Linked DNA regions of Homo sapiens: region 1 is linked to region 2. The links are contacts of gene promoters, found by promoter capture Hi-C in human tissues and cell types (Jung and others, 2019). All regions are on one chromosome and are shown on one strand. Each heading gives the region's core, a stretch centred on a gene start or on the middle of the fragment in contact. The rest is flanking DNA. Distances are from core to core; before and after follow the strand shown.

Evidence for each region. Contacts are between HindIII fragments. The study calls those that stand out against the background at their distance.
Region 1: a fragment that was not itself captured here is called in contact with the fragment with the promoter of FRAS1 in region 2 in 2 of the 25 tissues and cell types used here (H1 embryonic stem cells and thymus).

What each region holds. Positions count from the first base shown.
Region 1 is chr4:78,173,107-78,177,055 of GRCh38, reverse strand. The region is part of intron 2 of FRAS1 (Fraser extracellular matrix complex subunit 1); the gene reads right to left. Among named protein-coding and RNA genes, the nearest start is that of SNORD161, 110 kb to the left of the region's middle. The HindIII fragment of the contact is 5,977 bases long and covers 1-3,949 here.
Region 2 is chr4:78,054,707-78,058,597 of GRCh38, reverse strand. It overlaps FRAS1 (Fraser extracellular matrix complex subunit 1), which reads right to left and starts at 1,275. Exons shown (of 74, transcript NM_025074.7): 1 at 513-1,275. The coding sequence starts at 588. RefSeq lists an enhancer at 1,718-2,689. The HindIII fragment of the contact is 7,312 bases long and covers 1-3,891 here.

The sequences.
Region 1 (3,949 bases), core at 487-2,986, 120 kb before region 2:
GTTCTAACGCACTCCCACTATGGAGGTGTGTAACCTGCCTATTGGCAATTGTTGGGACAGACATAATGAATTTTGGTTTCAGCAATACAAGACAAAGGTCCCTGTGATGTTTTGATGGGACAGATAAGATGACCAAAGCCAAGAGTAGGTTGAATGGTAGTACCCATTGATGTGAGTTAGCTAATTGGTCTCAACCTAAAGAAGGCTCTTTCTTGACATGCTACAAGGCCCCTTCCTTGTTTCTTTCCTATTAACATTTTTACCAACAACTTGTATGAAAACTTAGAAGTATGTGAGTTAAACTTCTACTCAACACATTCCATTCTATCTTGTATTGCATAAGTGTTTACATTCCTCTCCCCAGCCACACTGTAAGCTTCATAGGTGTGCCTGCCTGGAGCCTTGCCAATAGCTGTGGGCTCAAAAAATGTTGGTTGAATTAAATTGTACTTATGAGGACAGGTTGCAGAAACTGGGAATGTTTCGCCTGGAAATGAGAAGGTGTCAGGGAGAAATGATGGCTGTCTTCACATATTTGAAGGATGATGAGATTTAAGCAATGTAGCTCTTCAGGGAAAAATCAGAACAACTGGTGAAAGGAACAGTGAGTTGATTTCTGCCCAGTGTAAGGAAACTCTTTATAACATTTACACCTGATGGCAATGGGAATGGGTGGAATTGCGAGTCCTCATACTCACAATGGGAGGGGCGCAATGATTACTGCAGGCACTTTAAAAGGGATTTCTGCTCTAAGTAGGAGAACAAATGGGATGCTGTATTCCAAGTCCAAGATTCTATGACATTCTAGCCTTCCTAGTTTTCAGTCCTTTTTCTTAAATTGCCAATTTGCATAGATGTTGATACATGAAGTAATGCTATCTCACATATAATAGGAAGCTAACTGCAAAAGAAAAATTACTTCATTTCTGAACCAGGGTATAACCAACTACAGGTATTATTACCCTTAATTTCGTGGGCATCAACATAAAAATTCCCCTGATAGTCAAAGTAGTATTTGACATTCAATTCACTAATGTCTGAGCAACTGAGATCTTAATCCAATTGATTTGCAAAATGGCACTCACCAAGAGACGGCAACCTAGTGTCTCTTAGGGATGTAATGGTGTCACATGCTTGAGAGCCCTTGTGCTGGACATTTCCATCTACCCATGCTCTCAGCCAAGGCATGCTGGCCTGCATGGACCACGTCAGCAGGCTTCCAGAAGGATTTGGCCAAAGAGGAGGACTGGCAGAAGATCAGAGGGAGGGTGGAAAGGGTGGCCATTTCCTTCCTGCCTCCCTTCCTACTGTGCATCATGATCTGGCCAGGTCTCTCATCTGAAGCCACAATTCCTGTAAGATGACCCTCTCCACAGAGCTGGCTCTGCTTCCAGGTTCCCAGAAATGCTCTTCTTCCTTTCCCTTTCAGATGTAGAATTAATATTGGCTCCCTGCTGTAACTACCCCTAGGATATTGCACTATTCCTGTGGTTTCCCTATACAATGCCCTGCCCTCACCTCTGAAAAGAGTCCCCTTATTGAACTCTCCTCAAATCACCCAGTTCAGGTCTGTAGACCTTCCTGCTGGAGCATTAGCTGACACAGCCAGACCAGAGTCAAGGCCAATAAACTGAGGGTGCATTCAATGGCAGAGTAAGTGTGTCCCTCCTTACCGGGGCACACAGATGGGAGATGTTGCCACCCAGAGAAACTCCTGGGAGTCTCTCCAGTAGTGCTGGTCTGACCAAGAAAAGAACAGTAAAAGCAATTAGACAGTAACAGGAGATCACAGTCAATTCATTAGAAAATGTGTTAATTAATGGGAGCCAGAAGTATAAATACTGAAAGAGCCCAAATGTAAATCTTGCTCCCCGCCCCAACAAAAAGTAGCCTCCAGGCGATGGGATAAGAAGCCAGGAGCCTGATGGGCAGTGTCCGGATGGGGCCGGTGGAGAGCAGCCAGCCTGCATTTGCAGGAAGTAGCAAAGGCTGATTTCACCCACTTCATCTTTCTGCCTAGAACCAAGCCTGCTGAGATGCAATAATGAAAATCTTCACAGCACATTACTGAATACAGTAATGCCTTTCTGCCTCAATAATACCGCAGCCTGTGCATGAATGTAATGCATTATTCTGATGCTGCTAGAAGAAAATTCAGTGATTTACATTTAGGGTTTATGTTTTGTTTCCAAATGAAAACATTCATCCCAACAACTATTCCTACACAGGTATTCCCAAAGCAAATGGCTCAAGATTTAGACTGTGTTCTGTTGCCTAAGACTTCTGACCTAATTCAGCTTCCCATCTTACCAGATTTTTAAAAGCCTGGTTAAAGATTTATAATCCTGTCATTTTATCCCCAGGACAAATTATATTCCAGGTGACTTTAATGCATGAAGATGACCAGTGCTAGTCAGCCAAATACTTGGCTTATCTTAATTGTTAGACAGTTGGTATGCTCAGCATTTTTGAGAGAGCTGAGTGAGTGCACCCCTTCTATCTTTTCCCTCCCTTCCATACTGGTTATATCCCAGGTAGATAACTATGCCTGGTTACAGGAAAACAAAGGATCTTGTAGAGCGGGATGGGAGTTTGGAGCTTGTATTTGCACTGCCATCATTGGTAGGAAGTGTTACATCTCATTATCTTCTTCTCAGACACATAATCCTCTTGTATATTCAAATGGCATTCAAGTCTTCATTAAGCAGGTTCCATGATCCTACCAAATATGGAAGAGATCCATGGACATAGGTATGTTTGCCAAGCGCTAAATTAATAGTAAGGTTTTTTATGTGACCTAAGTGGACTGTGATTTCTTGTAGTCAAGAACATGAGCCAACACATTTCCAAGTTAAAGCAGTAAACACAGCAAAATTTAATTTACAGAGAGCTCCTGGGAAACATGAGGCTCATTCAGAGAGTCAAAGCATCAGAGACTGGTCCTAAAAATAAAAGAAGCTGCTATTCTGATCTCCCGGATTCAGCTGTGTGTTCAGTTGAAACACGGGAGACAGAGGAGACACCAAGGGACGTGGCAATCAAGAGTTAGTCACGTAGCACCCAGTTACACCATCTGTACAGTGAAGCTGAATGCACACAGTAACTGATGATAAGCATTAGTAAGAAATATTAAGCACCTTGAGAATAACAGTGTAATGCATATAGAAATGTTTTCTATTACTTCAACCAGCCTTGTCATTTTTACCCATGATGGTTTTCTAAAATTGTGTTTTAAATGAGGAGCACTTTCTCCATAGCCTCCCAGTAAGAAATTAGAATGTCTTAAAAAATCACATAGTGCCGCCTGTTAAGATTTGTTAGTGCTTAACACTAATCAGTAAACACAACCCCAACTTTATGCACCTTATAGAAAGACGTGAGTTGAGTAAGAATGAGTGAAGCACTCAAGTGAAGTCAAAATACCTGTATGAAATAACTGGAAAAGATATTTTGCTTCTCAGTTTCAATTCCAAGATGCCTCTCATGTGTAGAAGGCAGGATGCCTCTTGGGAATGGGACTGGGAATGGGGGAGCTTCCCAGTAATTGTAAAGAGGGAGGAGATGCAAGTGAGGGAGTCTCAAGAGTAAAGGGCATCTGGAGAGTAAAGGACCTCCTCCGGGAGGTGACAAGACTCCTCCATTTCATGTCCATAGCACCCTAGGGAGGGAACAACAGTGTCAGGAGACAACAGCATCAGGATAGATCCCAATGTTTCAAGGTTGGAGCAGAAGTAGCAGATTCCTAAACCCAAGAGGCTTGGGGTATGGGACAAAGGTATCTGCTGGGAACTGGCTTGCGCTCAAGAGAGAGATGAGCCACCTCCTTAAAGACCTAGAAGACCTCACATTGTGTAAGACCTCAGACTGTGACAAAACCCCAGGAAGACTAAAGGATACATCAGAAAGACTGAGGGTATTGTTCTGCACATCTGACAGCATGGAGACACAA
Region 2 (3,891 bases), core at 26-2,525:
AACACGCTCCAACCAGTTAGTTATAAAATCCTAACTGGACTTTAGGGGGAGACTAACTGAGGTAAGGAGGGCGGGAGAGCGATGGGGCTTTAAGATGAAAGACTGTATGTTTCTTAGGAACAGAAGTATTTTTAAACAGGTAAGAGCAATTGTTCGCTCCTCACCTGTGCTCCATGCAGTTGCTTTCCCTTCGGGGAAAGGTAGGTGGTGGAAAGAAAAAGGATCAGTTTCAGAGATGTCACCTCCATCGGCCACCCACCCACCCAAAAGCACTTAGGGCAGAGAGGGAGGCCGTTTCGGGGGTGTAATCCGAATACAAAACAATCAGGAGTAGGAATCTTATCAGAAAAAGCCTATTCCAGTTTCACTTCCACCTCACCCTTCCCAGAAAAACTTCCACCTCACCGAAATACCATAAAACCTGCTGAGATTTTTAAACTGCACGATCACTCACACATACACACACACACGCACACGCACACACACACACACACGCGGCACCGCTCTCTCACCTTCGGAATGATGAGGCAATACTGCAAATTCCGCCAACGCTAGGGCCAGCCCGAGCCACACTTTGAGGACACCCATCGCCGCCTCGGCACCCACGATGGAGGAGCCCAGCCTTCAGCATCCAAGAAGCGGCTCCGCCAAAACGCTGGCTCCGGCGCTTGGAACCCGGGCGCACTGAAGGTGGGGGACCGCGGGCCTTTACCTCCGGGAAAAAGAGATGGACGGGCGGAGAGCGACACTCATCAGCCCGGAGGCGCCGGAGCGGGCTGGGGTTCAATTCACTCGCTGCTCAGGCAGAGAGCGCGCCGAGTTCCCCCGCAAGGCAGGACGCCAACGTGAGCTTTGGGAGAATAAGAGGAGGCAGAGCACAGTTCTCCGCGTCAAAATCTCGCCGGAAAGTTGCTGGTCACTGGCCGATGGGATCTTCCAGCATTTCCCTCGGGCTAGACCCTTCCGATCCCGGGTCCCCGACAGTGGAAATCCTGGCTCTGGTTTGTCCGAAGCAGCTTTTTAAAGTTCGCTTGGCACCATACGTCGGCGTTGCGTCGGCACCGCGGGTCGCCGGGAGCCCCGAAAGACCCACCCACACCCACTCCTTGGTCGAGCCACCCGGCTCGGCAGACCTCATCTGCCGGGGTCCGCTCGCTGGAAACTGTGCAGCGCTGAGGGCAGCTCCGGGGACTCGCCCGCCCTGCAGCCGCACCGCACCACACCGCCTCAGGCTGCGCTCCCTGAAGCAGACTGTTCGGAAGCTTCAGAGGAAAGACTGGGGGGCGCTGCTGCTACTTTCTCGTCCCCGCCCCTCGCCTGGGTGAGGAGGGCTGCGGGGACGCGGCTTGCTGCACACCAACACCCACCTCCGCGCTGAACACCCCGGAGGAGGTCTGCAGGGTAGAGGTGCAATGATTACGGGAGTGGAAGAAGAGCCATAATTTTAATTGCACGGAGGAAAAAGCTAGCGAGGCTGGAAAAGACCCCCAAACTCAAGGCCACTCTGGCGAGAGAGCCTGGAAACGCCCAAAATACGCCGGGTCTGGACCCCGTGTTTAAAGGACACACGTTCAGCCTTCCTCTAGTCTCCCTTGCCTCCTTCCTCTCTGCTTTGCTCGGTGTGAAAATGGACCCAGAGACTCGGAGCTTTGGCGAAATTCCAGAGAGTCACGTGGGGAAAGGGAGAAGCGAGGAGGGAGGTGAGGGGAGGCCGGGAGAGCAACCTGATCCCTTTATTCATTCTGCTGGAGTTCAGATTGGCTTTGTCTGGGGAGGAATCAAAAGTGCTCATACCGGGGACGGAGGGGGTGGAGATAGGTTGCACAGTTCTTGCTCAGGCACACCGGAAGGCAGATGAACCGTGTCCACATCCCTTGTTAGGGGAGGAACCGATTCGGCGGGCTGGGGGAGCGTGTGCCCACATCAAAGGCCCTGGGGCTACCTCCCACCCCCACAGCCCGCCACTCCTGCTGAACTAAGTGCGTCCGGGGGACCTGATTGATCCTTCTTCCTCGCTCTGGGACCCTCAGGCTGTTGCATCCTGGCTTTTACCAGCAGCCCGGGAAGATCTTGGTGTGTGTGTCCTAGGCGGAGCCTGAGAGCAAATGCACCTTTCCCTTTCCCTAGGAGACTCTGTCAGTGGAACACAACGCGGTCTGGGAGCTGTGGGTCCAGCTGCGCCCCCAGATGCCAATGGCTGGGAAAGTAACATCAGGACACGGCCGACTGGGGCGCGCACTTGAAGAGCAGAGGCCTTGATTCCCCGCCAGGACTGACTGACGGCAGCTATTTTTATAGGACCGAATAAAAATAGCTGGTCCACGTTTAATCGTTTTATAAGGGAACAGTTGCATCAGAGAGATGCTGACTGGGTTCTGATTGGCCCAGAGAAGAAACGTCTCGGGTCCCTCAATTGAGTCGGGATGGGCGAAACTGTTGGAGGGGAAGCAGTTGCATGAGCTGTGCTGGCGGGGGTCCCACTTGTTTCCAGTCTTCACGAACACCATGACGCGGGCCCACGTTCTAACGTGCACTGACGCCACTTGGAACAATTCACTTTTCCGAATAACTGGAATAACTTGAAACTGGCAGGTCCCTGTCAGTGTTACTATTCAGCCAGAACAAAGGAGAACCTCTGACAACCTGGCTCTGAATCTTAAGTATTTGGAGGACCCAGGGTTTGCACATTTCGCCCTCAGTCTCTCTGTTGGGCTGTGGTCATTCTAGGGACAGAGGTTGTATCATCTTTGTATAATTGAAGCACATAGTAGGTGCTCTTTAAACATTTGTTGAAATAATGGATTAAGTGCCTGAGAGCAGCGGCCATATCAAGGGGAGCTGCGGGCCTTAACCTCCTCCCAAAAAAAGACCCCTCCCTTTTTATTTAGAAAGTAGGGCCTGTGCGGTGGCTCACGCCTGTAATCCCAGCACTTTGGGAGGCCAAGGCAGGCAGATCACGACGTCAGGAGTTCGAGACCAGCCTGGCCAACATGGTGAAACCCCATTTCCACTAAAAATACAAAAATTAGCCACGTGTGGTGGCACATGCCTTTAATCCCAGGTACTCTGAAGGCTGAGGCACGAGAATCACTTGAACCCGGGAGGCAGAGGTTGCAGTGAGCAGAGATCTCACCACTGCACTCCAGCCTGGGTGACACAGCGAGACTCTGTCTCAAAAATAAAGGTCGGGCGGGGCGGGGGGGTGGAGGACATCTTCTCAATCCATGTAAAGTGATGTGCAAATTCAAACTCAGCTTCCAACACACTCTGACAACCAGACGGTCACCCTTAAACCCCCTCCTAATTTTGCAGCTGCTACTGAATGGGAGTAACTTAAACCGTTTGTTCTCTCAAAAATCAACAATTTGATTTTATTTTAAAAATCAAGCTGGGTGCAGTGGGGTGCACCTGTAGTCTCAGCTACTCCAGAGGCTGAGGCGGGAGGATCACTTGAGCTTGGAAGTTGGAGGCCATGGTCCACCCTGATTACGCCTATAAATAATCACTGCACTCCAAAAATCATACAATTATGGCACAGGTCTCAATAAGATATCTGTTATACTTGCTAATTGCAAATATGCTACTTTTCAAAAAGGAAAAGCAATAAATAAAGGGAGAATAGCACTACCAAGTTACCCTGAATTAATCATATGCTGTATTTATTGGATTTATATATAACATCCCCCCTTGACCACCAGTCCACCACAGGGGCACATGCTGGCCCACTCACATAGTCCTCCCTCTGCCCTAAGTAGTCAAGGGAGAAGGCAGCCTGAGTCCTTGCCCTAAGATCACTTGGAAGAGCAAAGGGTCAACCAATATTTCTGTAATATTAGGCATATCTAACACCTATGTTCACTTCAACTGAAATGTTGGAAAAAGAGATTATAT